Linked DNA regions of Homo sapiens: region 2 is linked to region 1. Evidence: promoter capture Hi-C in human tissues and cell types (Jung and others, 2019). All regions are on one chromosome and are shown on one strand. The core of a region is centred on a gene start or on the middle of the fragment in contact, and the rest is flanking DNA. Distances in the headings are between cores, read along the strand shown.

Evidence for each region. Contacts are between HindIII fragments. The study calls those that stand out against the background at their distance.
Region 2: a contact is called between a fragment that was not itself captured here and the fragment with the promoter of UNK in region 1, in 1 of the 25 tissues and cell types used here (hippocampus).

The regions. Positions count from the first base shown.
Region 1 is chr17:75,778,862-75,786,116 of GRCh38, reverse strand. UNK (unk zinc finger) reads right to left here and starts at 1,311. Exons shown (of 16, transcript NM_001080419.3): 1 at 1,133-1,311. The coding sequence starts at 1,236. It overlaps MIR4738 (microRNA 4738), which reads left to right and starts at 1,510; the gene lies at 1,510-1,596. It overlaps H3-3B (H3.3 histone B), which reads left to right and starts at 6,338. Exons shown (of 4, transcript NM_005324.5): 1 at 6,338-6,460; 2 at 6,933-7,070; 3 at 7,154-7,255. The coding sequence starts at 6,943. RefSeq lists enhancers at 61-638, 650-1,049, 639-1,217, 2,780-2,959, 6,646-7,250 and silencers at 1,110-1,249, 6,748-7,017. The HindIII fragment of the contact is 5,813 bases long and covers 1-5,372 here.
Region 2 is chr17:76,295,997-76,302,510 of GRCh38, reverse strand. All of the region lies in intron 3 of QRICH2 (glutamine rich 2), which reads left to right. Among named protein-coding and RNA genes, the nearest start is that of QRICH2, 9.0 kb to the left of the region's middle. The HindIII fragment of the contact is 4,582 bases long and covers 1,193-5,774 here.

The DNA of each region.
Region 1 (7,255 bases), core at 62-2,561:
ACAACAAAGAATCCCACAAAGAAACCATACACTTCCTATAACCAATGTTCCCCAACCCCAGAACAGTTTCCCAAGGTCTTCTATAACAAGAGTTCCTCCTGACTGGTTTGAGTTCTTTCTACTCCAACAGATGATTCTGTTCTTCGTTCACTGAACAACTTAAGAGCTGTTCAACCCCCCAGGTTCCAAAACCTCTCGCAGCTGGGGATCCTTTTAAACATGCACATCACTCAGGAGCCCATGGGGATGAGAGGCATTCACAGAGCATCAGGGAAAATGGAAAGCAACATTTTGCTTAACAGGAGAAACCGCCCCTTATTCATCTTTCTCCCACATCACCTAACTCTAGGGAATGCTTAACGTGGCTTGAAGGAAATGAAGACAGCGACCTAAAAGCACACAGATGCAAGACTTCCAGGAAGAGGTTTTCCCATCCTGCTGGACTCCTGTAGTGTCAGTATTTGGGGCTCCCTCTAATGCTACATTTCTGCTGAGCCTGCAGACATACTTGGAACCCATCACCTTCGGGCTCCCAGACTCAGGCTCCGCACAGCCCGCGAGGGAAACGGTCATGGGCACGCACGGACACGTTTCCATCTTTGCATGTTTATCTACGTCGACTGTGAATTCAAGCAAGTGTGGCCCTCGTGGACAACCTACGAGCCTTAGGGACACAAAAGGCTTCCTGCGCAAACTGCACGGAATCTCCTGACAGGACTTCACGTTAATCATCATTCATAGGTGGGTTCTGGGGCTGGACCCCACGGAACTCCTCTTGGTTGTGTCTTGGACTTCTCACTGCCCCAAAGGAGCCTACTACTGTGGTTTTATGGTCTGAGGAACAGTTAGGCCTCGAAGGCCTGGCCTAGGGAGAGTGCACTCTGCATCCCGAGCTCCCGCCTTCCCCACTCGGCGGCCGGGACCGAGTTTCCCGCCCCACAGCCCGACCAGAGGTTGGTGGCAGTTGGAGGCAGTTGGGACCGGCCCCAGCAGGTTGGAACCGGTCTGGGCCGGGCCGGAGGAGGAAGGGGGGGAGGAAGAGGCCGCCTCGCGCTCTCCCTGCGCGCGTGACTCACGCTGGCCGCTGACGTCAGGCGTGCGCGCGCGGCGGGGGGGGGGGGGCTCTACGTACGTGTAGTGCTGCGGTTTCTCGGGCTGTGCCTGCAGCACCTGAGCGGTAGCGGCCGGGGGCGCCGAGGAAGCTGCGGAGCCGCCGGGCCCGGGGCCCTTCGACATGGTCTTGTCTTCCTGCCTCTTCGCCGCTCCCCTTTTATTATTCAGTCTGCGCGGTCCGCGCCGAGGACCCAGTGCGCCTGCGCCGCGCCACGAGAACGTGAAGACCCCCCACACGGCAGCAGGGGTTGCTGGGAGTTGTGGTTCTATGTCCGGCTGGAATTTTACCGTCGGCAGAGGGTTGCTGGCAAAGCACAGGACCACAATACCCAGGGATCCTTGCTGCTAGTGTCCCGGATGCTGAGGGCCTGCGACGGCTTCTGGGAATTGCAGTCCGGTCGCATTTCTCCTTCTTACCAGCGCGTTTTCAGTTTCATAGGGAAGCCTTTCCATGAAACTGGAGCGCCTGGAGGAGAAGGGGCCCAGAGCTAGGGAGGCCCTAGCGATTTCTGCGAAAGAGTTCCAAGTATAATTTCACTGCCAACAGTGTCATAACTACTTTGCCTTTATACTTAGTACAGCTAGGTTCGGTTCTAATGCCAGCTCAGAGCAGTGCTCCAAGCAGGGCTTAAGAATCTGTGTTGTCGGTTCTTAGTTCTGGGCCCTGTGCTGCAGGCACCTGCAATCCGCCAGCAACCCCTTCATCCCTGCGGCGGGTCTAACCTAAGAGGCATTGAGAAAGCTTTGCTAAGGAGGAGGTACACCGCACGCTACAGTTCCCGCGCCTTTGCCGAGGCGCTTCATTTACCTTTGCCAAACTCGACACCTGGAACTCCACGACTTGTGTGCTTTCTCAGCCTGACACCTGGCCTGACCAACTTGTTTCCAGTACATTAAGGGCCAAGGACGAATTTAATCTCCGCCTAGAATAGTCTCTGAGGTACACTGACAAGTTGCCAGTGTTGAGAAGCATCACAGGGTCCAGAGGAAAGGCCTGGGTTTGAGTAGGGCGTGCCCGTATTTATCCACTCTAGTTTTCTTGTCTGGACGTCAGCCTTTTTACTTGGGACATTATCTTTCCCCTCTCTGCTTCCCACCAGTCAAGCAAAGTTCTTCACTTTATAAAATAAGCCAGATGCCCCAGACCTAGGCATTTGTTTCTGTGAGTTTTAGAATGTTCTCCGTAGATATTTTAACCGTTGTCATTTAATTTGGTTTTTCATATTGAATCTATTTCAAATCCACTGGTTTTGATTTATATTTTCTTAGATGGGATTATATTAACAAATGATTATCTCATTAAAGAAACACATTCCAAATAACCTTAGGGATGAAGGGTGGTGGGGCTAATGGAAAATCGTTAATGTTTGAGTGACACATACTTATTTTATTTAGCTCCAAGTTCCCTCACATCAGAAGCCACATCACAGAGTTGAGAAACTGGTTTTTCCTAAACAGGCTAAATCGTTTAGCCACTAGGGGCGTTTGAAAATGAAAAATTACAAAAGGACAAATAAAAGTTGTAGTATATTGCTTTAATCCTATGATTAAACGCAAGTTACTTGGTTTATGTTAGCCTCACAATACTCAAGTGTGATCTGACTGAAGAAATAGAGTTCACAGCACTGGATTTTAAATAATAGATGTATATCATGAGCTTCAGAATAAGTGTGTACTGGTGGAGTTGGGAGATGATATCATCCAAACTGCTTAATTTACAAAAGAGGAAACCGAAACCCAGAGAAGCTAAGTAACTTGCACAAAGTTACTCAGCAAGTTGGTAACAAGAGGAACTAGGACAGTAGCCTACAAGACTACATCACATTCACTGTTGGGTTTTGTTTGTTTTGTTTTCTTCTGCTTTTTTTCATTGTATAAACATTTTTTATTCTTCCTCATTTCCTGTGTTGCTTTTCCTCCGTTGTACCAATCTGGAAAAAGTGAAACATACCTGCATGACTACGAAGTAAGAGAGACAGCCTTTTTTTTTTTTTTTTTTTTTTTTTTTTGAGGCAGAGTCTTGCTCTGTTGCCCAGGCTGGAGTGCAGTGGTGTGATTTCGGCTCACTGCAACCTCTGCCTCCCAGGTTCAAGCAATTCTCCTGCCTCAGCCTCCTGAGTAGCTGGGATTACAGGTGTGTGCCACCACGCCCACCTGATTTTTGTAGTTTTAGTAGAGACGTGGTTTCACCATGTTGGTCAGGCTGGTCTCGAACTCCTGACCTCACGATCCACCCTCCTCAGCCTCCCAAGAGCTGGGATTACAGGCGTGAGCCACTGCGCCCGGACTCCTGTTTCCACGAATCATACTTAAATGGATAAATGTATATCCATACCTTTTTTCTCCGGGTGGCTTTAGTTTCTAATAATCAGCAAAGCTGGAAAGAAAATGACTGTCCATCCACACAAAGGCATGGAAATGACAGGATTCTGTATAACCTAGAAAAATCGTGAAACACAGCAGGGAGTGGTGGCTGAAGCCTGTAATCCCAGCACTTTGGGAGGCCGAGGTGGGCGGATCACAAGGTCAGGAGATCGAGACCATCTTGGCTAACATGGTGAAACCCTTGTCTCTACTAAAAATACAAAAAAATTAGCCAGGCGTGGTGGCGGGCGCCTGTAGTCCCAGCTACTCAGGAGGCTGAGGCAGGAGAATGGTGTGAACCTGGGAGGCGGAGCTTGCAGTGAGCCGAGATGGCGCCACTGCACTCCAGTCTAGGCGACAGAGCAAGACTCCATCTCAAAAAAAAAAAAAAAAAAAAAAATCGTGGAACACAAAGTGGGGGACCAATTTAGAAAGCCTATTCCTCTTCTAGGCCAAAGTCAAAAAAAAAAAAAAAAAAAAGATGACAAGTTATTTTTCTGTTTGCATCCCAGAGAATTTGACAGCCTCATATGTGTGTCTAAACAGTCCCCTGTTTCTTAACTTGACACAGGTTTGAGAATAAAGCATGAGAATCCACCTAGGTTTCTCTTCTCAGCATGGCATTAATAAAATCATGTAATTTTTCCCTACCTCAAATTTTGAGTCAAAGGCAGAAATCAAAGTTGGTTATCACAGTAAATTTAGGTATATGATGATTAAATACATAATGTGCACGTTAAGATTAAGAAGGCTGGCTGAGCGCGGTGGCTCACGCCTGTAATCCCAGCACTTTGGGAGGCGAGAGGCAGGCGGACCACGAGGTCCAGAGATCGAGACCATCTTGGCCAACATGGGAAACCCTGTCTCTACTAAAATACAAAAAATTAGCCGGGCATGGTGGCGCATGCCTACAATCCCAGCTACTTGGGAGGCTGAGGCAGGGGAATCGCTTGAACCCAGGAAGTGGAGGTTGCATGGAGCTGAGATCGCGCCACTGCACTCCAGCCTGGCAGCAGAGCAAGAGTCCGTCTCAAAAAAAAAAAAAAAAAAATTAAGAAGGCTGAAATAATAACAGGAATTTGATACCAGAGATTGAGATGAAGCTGAGCTAGTTTTTCAAAGTGTGCATTTTTTTCTCATTGTTTGATACTTGACCACTGGTGTGACAAGTCAATATTGAGGTATTTGTACTTACGTACTGTAATTCTCTGAAGGTCAGGCATGGTGGCTCATGCCTGTAATCCTAGCACTTTGGGAGGCTGGGGCAGAAGGATTGCTTGAGTCCAGGAGGTCAAAACTGCAGTGAGCCGTGGTCACTGCACCACTGCACTCTAGCATGGGTGACTGGGCAAGACCCCACTTCAAAAAAAAAAAAAATTACCGGCCAGGGGCGGTGGCCCATGCCTGTAATCCCAGCACTTTGGGAGGCCAAGGCGGGTGGATCACAAGGTCAGGAGATCAAGACCATCTTGGCTAACACGGTGAAACCCCGTCTCTACTAAAAATACAAAAAAATTAGCCGGGCGTGGTGGCAGGCGCCTGTAGTCCCAGCTACTCGGAGGCTGAGTCAGGAGAATGGTGTGAACCCAGGAGGCGGAGCTTGCAGTGAGCTGAGATCGTGCCACTGCACACCAGCCTGGGCGACAGAGTCAGACTCCGTCTCAAAAAAAAAAATTAATTTAGTTGAAACCTATGCATACCTGTATCTGCTACTTTTTCTTTTAATAGTTTAGAATATTTGCTGGACCAGCATCAGAACTATAGAGTAGAATGCCCAAGGCTCTATTTCAATTTTCTGGGCTTTGCTTGGCTAGTCTTAACCTTAAGCCTGCTATGGTATTTTATATACTTGAGGCAACTGAAGAACTGACTATTACAATCTACCCAAGACATTTACTTAGGCAAAGGTAGGGATTAGCATATTTACACATTTGTCATGTTTCTTCAGAAGTAATACCTGCCAGGATATGCTATTAAACAAAAGGGCACATATCTAGTTTAGTTATCTTTTGTTTATTCTTTATGGACATGCAAATACTATAGTAGGACTATTTACTTTCTAGCTGTAGTCATTTCATTCACTTGAAGTACATAATTCAAGTAACATGTTGCTTAGTAAGTTACCTCTTGTTTAAGCATATGGAAATCAAAAAATATTTTGTGACACCTTAAAAACATACAAAACAGTTCCTCTAAAATAATTTATTAACATGTTTATTTGTATTTATTATTTACCCCTTCCCACCCCACCAAGAGACCTGCTTTTTGTTAAAAATGTATGTGCATGATATATGAAATACTTGATAATATAACATGATTTACTGAATTCTAATTCTCACACTACGCACTTAACTATCAAAATATTATGAAAGGTAAATAATCCAGGGAACACATTTTATTTTACATCGGAAAATATTTACAAAAATTTTGTTAAAGTAGCCTCTCTGGGTGCATAGCATTCGCTTGATGCCTGTGAGTTTAGACTCCTGCTCATTCTGATAGAGACCAATGCAATTCATTTGCATTGACTTTCTATTGCAGAGCTTTGGAACCAAGGGAAGGATCCAAACATAGCTCCATTTTATCCAATCAGAAGGGCCGCTTAGTGCTAAACTCTGATTCGTCCATTCCTCTTTGCATCCATCCAATCATTAGGCCACTTTAACAGCCAATCAGCGGCGTAGATATGCACCAATCATGGAACAGTGCCGAAGCACGGCCTTTGTGTCGGGGGATGTCAGCGCGTCGGCGAAAGCGCCCACCAATAGAAAAAGTCGTTGGTGTATGCAAATAAGGGTTCTATGACGCAGAGACGCAGCGTGAAGCGTGCCTATAAAAACGGAGGCGACGCGGGGGCTTGGAGCGCAGAGCGGTTTGGTCGTTCGTTGGGCGGTGCTGGTTTTTCGCTCGTCGACTGCGGCTCTTCCTCGGGCAGCGGAAGCGGCGCGGCGGTCGGAGAAGTGGCCTAAAACTTCGGCGTTGGGTAGGCGTTCGTAGGTTTACCCGCGGCTTCAGGTTCTGCCAACCGTTGGCGCCGCGCGCCGCGGCCGTTGGGAGCCGAGCGGCGGGGGCTGCTCGGGCCGCTGGCGTCGGGTCGGGTATGGGGCCGGGAGGTTTCCCCTTGGGGCTTTGTTCCGGAACTGTGTCCCCGCCTTTTCCCGGCGGTGATTCAGAGGTCCCGACGCCGGGTTCCGGGCAGTCGGGCCTCCGCCCGTCGAGGAAGGGAAGTGACTCCTCCCCGCGCTCCCCCTCCCGGGGGAGGCTGCCGCTCCTCGCAGCCTGAGTCATTAGGGGAGGGGGAGGAGGTTGGCGGCCCTCGGCCATCTGCTGCCGCGAGGTGGGGCGCGGGGAGGCGGGAGGCCCGGCGGTGGGGCCAGGATCTGTTCCTCCCCCCGCAGCCCTGGGGGGCGGCCCGGGTGAGCGCGGCGGCCTTATCTTCGGGGCGTCTTTCTTAGGTGAAAGAAAATGGCCCGAACCAAGCAGACTGCTCGTAAGTCCACCGGTGGGAAAGCCCCCCGCAAACAGCTGGCCACGAAAGCCGCCAGGAAAAGCGCTCCCTCTACCGGCGGGGTGAAGAAGCCTCATCGCTACAGGTAGGTCGGGCGGGGGAACAATGGCCCGGCGGTGGCCGGCTTTGTGCGGCAGCGTCCGCTCACTCCTCCCCTGCTCGCTGCAGGCCCGGGACCGTGGCGCTTCGAGAGATTCGTCGTTATCAGAAGTCGACCGAGCTGCTCATCCGGAAGCTGCCCTTCCAGAGGTTGGTGAGGGAGATCGCGCA
Region 2 (6,514 bases), core at 2,234-4,733, 510 kb before region 1:
TCCGTCTCAAGATCCTTAATTGTACCTGCAAAGTCCCTTTTACCACGTAAGGTAATGCTCCCAGGTTCAGGGGATGGGGACATGGATATCTTTGGGAGTTTATATTCAGCACACCATAGTGACTAAAACCAAAATAATGGTTTTTCAGAACAAACACCTTGAAGTCCTAGACAAATGGACATGACAGCTACAGAGGTGGGGGTGGGGTGGGGGGGAAACGGGGTCCTAGAAAGGTCGGTACAGTTTTCATTAAGGGCATCAGATGAGACTCCTGTCATTTCTGAGGATGACAGGAATTATAAATAATGAGTGCCGGCCGGCGCGGTGGCTCACAGCTGGAATCCCAGCACTTTGGGAGGCTGAGGTGGGGGATCACCTGAGGTCAGGAGTTGGAGACCAGCCTGGCCAACATGGTGAAACGCCATCTCTACTAAAAATACAAAAATTAGCCGGGTGTGGTGGCACATGCCTGTAATCCCAAGCACTTGGGAGGCTGAGGCAGGAAAATCATTTGAACCCGGGAAACGAAGTTGCAGTGAGCTAAGATCGTGCCACTGCACTCCAGCCTAGCTGACAGAGTGAGACTCTGTCTCACACACACACACACACACACACACACACACACACACACACACACAAAATTAGCCAGGTGTGGTGGCAGGAGCCTGTAATCCCAGCTACTTGGGAGGCTGAAGCAGGAGAATCTATAGAACCTGGGAGGCAGAGGTTGCAGTGAGCCGAGATTGCACCACTGCAGTCCAACCTGGGTGACAGAGTGAGACCCTGTCTCAAAAAAAAAAAAAAAAATTATAAAACACCACCAACTCTAAGATACATCCTGATTTCAGAGATGTTAAAATGTATGTGTGGGTGTCGGGGCAGGATGTCCATCTTAGAATCAGTGAATGTATTTTGAGTCCCAAATGGACTTCTTCATTTTTTTTGAGACAGAGTCTCTGTCGTCACCCAGGCTGGAGTGCAGTGGTGTGATCTCGGCTCACTGCAACCTTCCCCTCTGGGGCTCAAGCAATCCTCCTGCCTCAGCCTCCCCGGTAGTTGGGACCACAGGTGCGTACCACCATACCTAGCTAATTTTTGTATTTTTAGTAGAGACAAGGTGTTGTCATGTTGCCCAGGCTGGTCTCAAACTCCAGAGCTCAAGTGATCCACCCGCCTCGGCCTCCCAAAGGGCTGGGATTACAGGCATGAGCTACCGCCCTGGCCTATCATATATTTTGTTCAAGATTTTGGCTCATTTGTTGTAATGTTAGGGCATGTTAAAGAAAAAATATTTTTGAGACAGTCTTGCTCTGCTGCCCAGGCTGGAGTGCAGTGGTACCATAAGGGCTTACTGCAACCTCGACCTCCTGGACTCAAGTGATCCTCTCACCTCAGCCTCCTGAGTACCTGGGACTACAGGTGCATGCCACCACACCTGACTAATATTTTGCATTTTTGAGACAGAGTCTTGCTCTGTTGCCCAGGCTGGAGTGCAGTGGCATGATCTTGGCTCACTGCAACCTCCACCTCCCGAGCTCAAGTGATTCTCCTGCCTCAGCCTCCCGAGTAGCTGGGATTACAGGTGCCCACCACCACGCCCGGCTAATTTTTTTGTATTTTTAGTAAAGATGGGGTTTCACCGTGTTGGCCAGGCTGGTCTTAAACTCCTGACCTCGGGTGATCTGCCTGCCTTGGCCTCCCAAAGTGCTGGGATTACAGGCGTGAGCCACCATGCCTGGTCATATTTTGTATTTTGTAGAAAGGTTTTTGCCATGTTGCCCAGGCTGGTCTCAAACTCCTGGCCTCGAGCAGTCTGCCAGCCTTGGCCTCCCATAGTGCTGGGATTGAGCCACTGCACCCAGTCTCAATCCTGGCCCTCTACTCATGATGCAGGCACACCGCACAATTTCCATAAAGTCACCACTGTCTGCCAAAACCCATAATGGAGGTTAACACCCAGTTTCAAAATCTTTATTTTACGTTTATGCTAAAGGACTCTACCAACCATGCAGGCAGGTCAAATTGGTCTCAGGTCATATTTGTCTCAGGTGTGTTGTATGTGCTTACCTGGGGCTAGTGGCACTCCCCCACTGCTTTCATCCTGGTCTGTGCGAGGGCTGAAGTGGCCATTACCAGAGCTTGTTCTCTTGCTTCTCAACAATCTTTTAATATTTATATTTATCTTTATTTGCTTTTGGAGTTGTTCATAATTATGAGCAGTAATCAAACGCACATGCTTTCTTACCTCTGGAGAAGTAAAAATGTTTAAAGGTGTCTATGCTTATGTGTAAGTCTCATGGTGTCTGCCGCCATCACCCTGAGAAGATGTACTGCTCGGTAAAAACAGTACGATAGTGGCATGTGCAAAAAAGATTTGGCTTGGCCAGGTGCGGTGGCTCACGCCTGTAATTCCAGCACTTTGGGAGGCCGAGGCAGGCAGATCACAAGGTCAAGAGATCGAGACCATCCTGACCAACATGGTGAAACCCCGTCTCTACTAAAAATACAAAAAGTTAGCTGGGCGTGGTGGTGTGTGCCTGTAGTCCCAGCTATTCGGGAGGCTGAGGCAGGAGACTCGCTTGAAACCACCGGAAGGCGGAGGTTGCAGTGAGCCGAGATCGCATCACTGCACTCCAGCCTGGGCAACAAGAGCGAAACTCCGTCTCAAAAAAAAAAAAGGTTTGGCTTTAAAAAAGTGAAAGTGGAGGCCACTTTTTTCTAGTCCATTCCTTTTGTGTTCAGGGTCCTCTTGCAATATCGTTTAGTTTTGTTTTTTGAGACAGTCTTGCTTTGTCGCCCATGCTGGAGTGCAGTGGCGCAATCTTGGCTCACTGCAACGTTCACCTCCTGGGTTCAAATGATTCTCCTGCCTCAGTCTCCCGAGTAGCTGAGATTACAGGCGCCCACCATCACGCCCAGCTAATTTTTGTATTTTTACTAGGGACAGGGTTTCACCATGTTGTCCAGGCTGGGCTCGAACTTCTGACCTCAGGTGATCCGCCCGCCTCGGCTTCCCAAAGTGCTAGGATTACAGGCTGGAGCCACCGCGCCCGGCCCCTCTTGCAACATCTTTCTGATGCCGCTTTCCTCTGAGAATGAGCCCTGAAATCAGAAAATGGTCCTGGAGATCCCAGGTTGTCTTTTGTACCCAGATATTTGGCGCTCCCCAAGATGGCCACTTGGTGGCGCCAAAAGCTTTACTCTTCACCCTGCTTCCGTCTACATTTTCAAATGGCCCTCAAAGTTGGCTTGCTTGTTTTGATAACCCACTAGCCCAAAGCCAGCGGGAGGGATGTCAAGACCAAAAGGGAAGTTAAGCCTCATCTTTGAGGGCCATTTGAACATATTCAGCTTGATTTTATTCAGGTGAAGGTAGGTTGGCGATCGGAAAACAATTTGGTCATCTGTACACTGTCTCAAGACAGACAGATGCATGCCTGTGTGCAAAAGTTGCCATCAGCAGAGGGCCCCCTACAGAAGTTTTATTTCCAGGGTCTGTCACCATGGCCCACTAATAAGGAAAGATCCCTGCATTTCAGGACAGACTGTAAAGAAAGTTTGAAAAGCTACAAAAGCAAATAAAAACTACACTCAGGGCCGGGCGCTGTGGCTCACACCTATAATTCCAGCACTTTGGGAAGCCGAGGCAGACGGATCACTTGAGGTCGGGAATTTGAGACCAGCCTGACCAATATGGTGAAGCCCCATCTCTACTAAAAATATAAAAATTAGCCGGGCGTGGTGGCATGCGCCTGTAATCCCAGCTACTCGGGAGGCCGAGGCAGGAGAATCGCTTGAACCCGGGAGGCAGAGGTTGCAGTGAGCCGAGATCGCGCCACTGAACTCCAGCCTGGGCGACAGAGCGAGACTCTGTCTTAAAAAAAAGACAAAGAGGTCAGACATGGTTGCTCACGCCTTTAATTCCAGTACTTAAAGTCAAGGCGGGAGAAGTGCTTGAGGCCAGGAGTTTGAGACCAGCCTAGGCAACATATTAAGACCCCGTCTCTACAAAAAGTTTTTAAAAGGTCACGTGGCCGGGGGCAGTGGCTCATGCCTGTAATCCCAGCACTTTGGGAGGCTGAGGCGGGCGGATCACCAGGTCAGGAGATCAAGACCATCCTGGCTAACACGGTGAAACCCCGTCTCTACTAAAAATACAAAAAAATTATCCGGGCGTGGTGGTGGGCGCCTGTAGTCCCAGCTACTCGGGAGGCTGAGGCAGGAGAATGGCGCCGGGAGGTGGAGCTTGCAGTGAGCCGACATTGCACCACTGCACTCCAGCCTGGGTGACAGAGTGAGACTCCGTCTCAAAAAAAAAAAAAAAAAAAATTAGCCAGAAAGCCAGGCAGCGTGGCTCATGCCTGTAATCCCAGCACTTTGGGAGGCTGAGGTGGATGGATCACCTGAAGTCAGGAGTTCAAGACCAGCCTGGCCTACATGGTGAAACCCCATCTTTACTGAAAAATTCAAAAAATTAGCCGGGCATGGTGGTGCGTGCCTGTGATCCCATCTACTCAGGAGGCTGAGGCACTGGAAACTTGGAGGCGGAGGTTTCAGTGAGCTGAGATTGTGCCACTGCACTCCAGCCTGGGTGACACAGCAAGACTCTGTCTCAAAAAAAAAAAAAAAAAAAAAAAAAACAGATTCCTAAGTAGTCCTAGCTACTTGGGAGGCTGAAGGGGGAAGATTGCTTGAGCCCAGGAGTTAAAGGTTGCAGTGAGCTGTGATCATGCCACTGCACTCCAGACTGAGTGACAGAGTGAGACCCTGTCTCTAAAGTGTGTGCTTGTGTGTGTGTAGCCATAATAACTGTTTTAATATCCATCTCTGCTAATTCTAACACATATGCCAGTGTTGAGTTGGTCTCAGTTGGTTGAGTTATCTCCTCATTATGGGTCATGTCTTCCTGCCTCTTTGTATGCCTGGCAATCTTTGATCAGGTGCCAGCCATTGTGACTTTTCCTGCATTGGATGGTACATATTTTTGTATTTTTTTTTTCTTTTGAGATGGAGTCTTGCTGTGTCGCCCAGGCCGGAGTGCAGTGGCACAATCTCTGCTCACTGCAATCTCCGCCTCCTGGGTTCAAGCGATTCTCCTGCCTCAGCCTCCTGAGTAGCTGGGATTACAGGTGTGTGCCACCATGCCTGGCTAATTTTTGTATTTTTAGTAGAGACGGGGTTTCACCATGTTGGCCAGGCTGGTTCCGAACTCCTGCACTCAGGTGATCCTCCCGCGTTGGCCTCCCAAAGTGTTGGGATTACCGGTGTGGGACACCACACCCGGCCATATTTTTGTATTCTTATACATTTTATTGAGCCTGTTTCCCCCAGGACACAGCTACTTAAAAACAGTTTGATTGCTTCAGGCCTTGCTTTTATGATTTTATGATTTGTTAGGTGGGTCCATAGGTGTGTTCAGTCTAGGGCTGATTATTCTCCATTTCTGAGGCAACACTTTTCTGAGTACACTCTGCTCTGTGCTACTTGAATGATGAGTTTTTCCAAACTGGTTGATAAGAACAGGCACCATTTCCAGCCCCATGGCAGGCAGGGCACTGCTTCTTCAAGCCCTGCAGGTGGTTCTTTCCCCAATCTTGGGACGTCTCCCCACATGCATGTACTCATCAAATGCGTGCTCATCACTCGGAGGGGATCCTCCACAGACCTCTGGAGTGGGAGTGGGCTTTCTGTCATCTCCCTTCTTTCTGGTTATTTTTTTTTTTTTTTTTTTTTGAGACAGAGCCATGCTCTGTTGCCCAGGCCGGAGTGCAGTGGTGTGATCTCAGCTCACTGCAACCTCCGCCTCCTGGGTTCAAGTGATTCTCCTGCCTCAGCCTCCCAAGTAGCTGCGACTACAAGCATGTGCCACTGTGCCTGGCTAACTTTTGTATTTTTAGTAGAGATGGGGTTTCGCCTTGTTGGCCAGGCTGGTCTCAAACTGCTAACCTCGGGTAATCCACCCACTGAAAGTTCTGGGATTACAGGCATGAGCCACCACGCCTGGATAACTCCCTTCTTTCTGATACTCTATCCTGTGACCTTCAGTTGCCTGAATCTCCCTGAATGCTCACTTCTGTCTCCTCAACTCAGAGAGTCTGCCAGACTCCACCTCAATTCCCCCTCCCTGCACTGCAGTCTGGAAACTCCAGCAAGGCAGCAAGCCAGGGTGATACAGGCTTCCCAGTTTTCCTTTCTCCACCGCTTGGGGATTATTGTCCTTCATAACTTGATATCCAGTATGTAGGAAACCACCGTTTCATAGCTGTTGTTGGGTTTGTTTGTTTTTTTGAGATAGAGTCTCACTCTGTCTCCCAGGCTGGAGTGCAATGGTGCTATCTCGGCTCACTGCAACCTCCGACTTCTGGGTTCAAGCAATTCTCCTGCCTCAGCCTCCTAAGTAGCTGGGATTACAGGCATGTGCCACCACACCCAGCTAGTTTTTGTATTTTTAGTAGAGACGGGGTTTCACCATGTTGGTCAGGCTGGTCTTGAACTCCTGACCTCATGATCCACC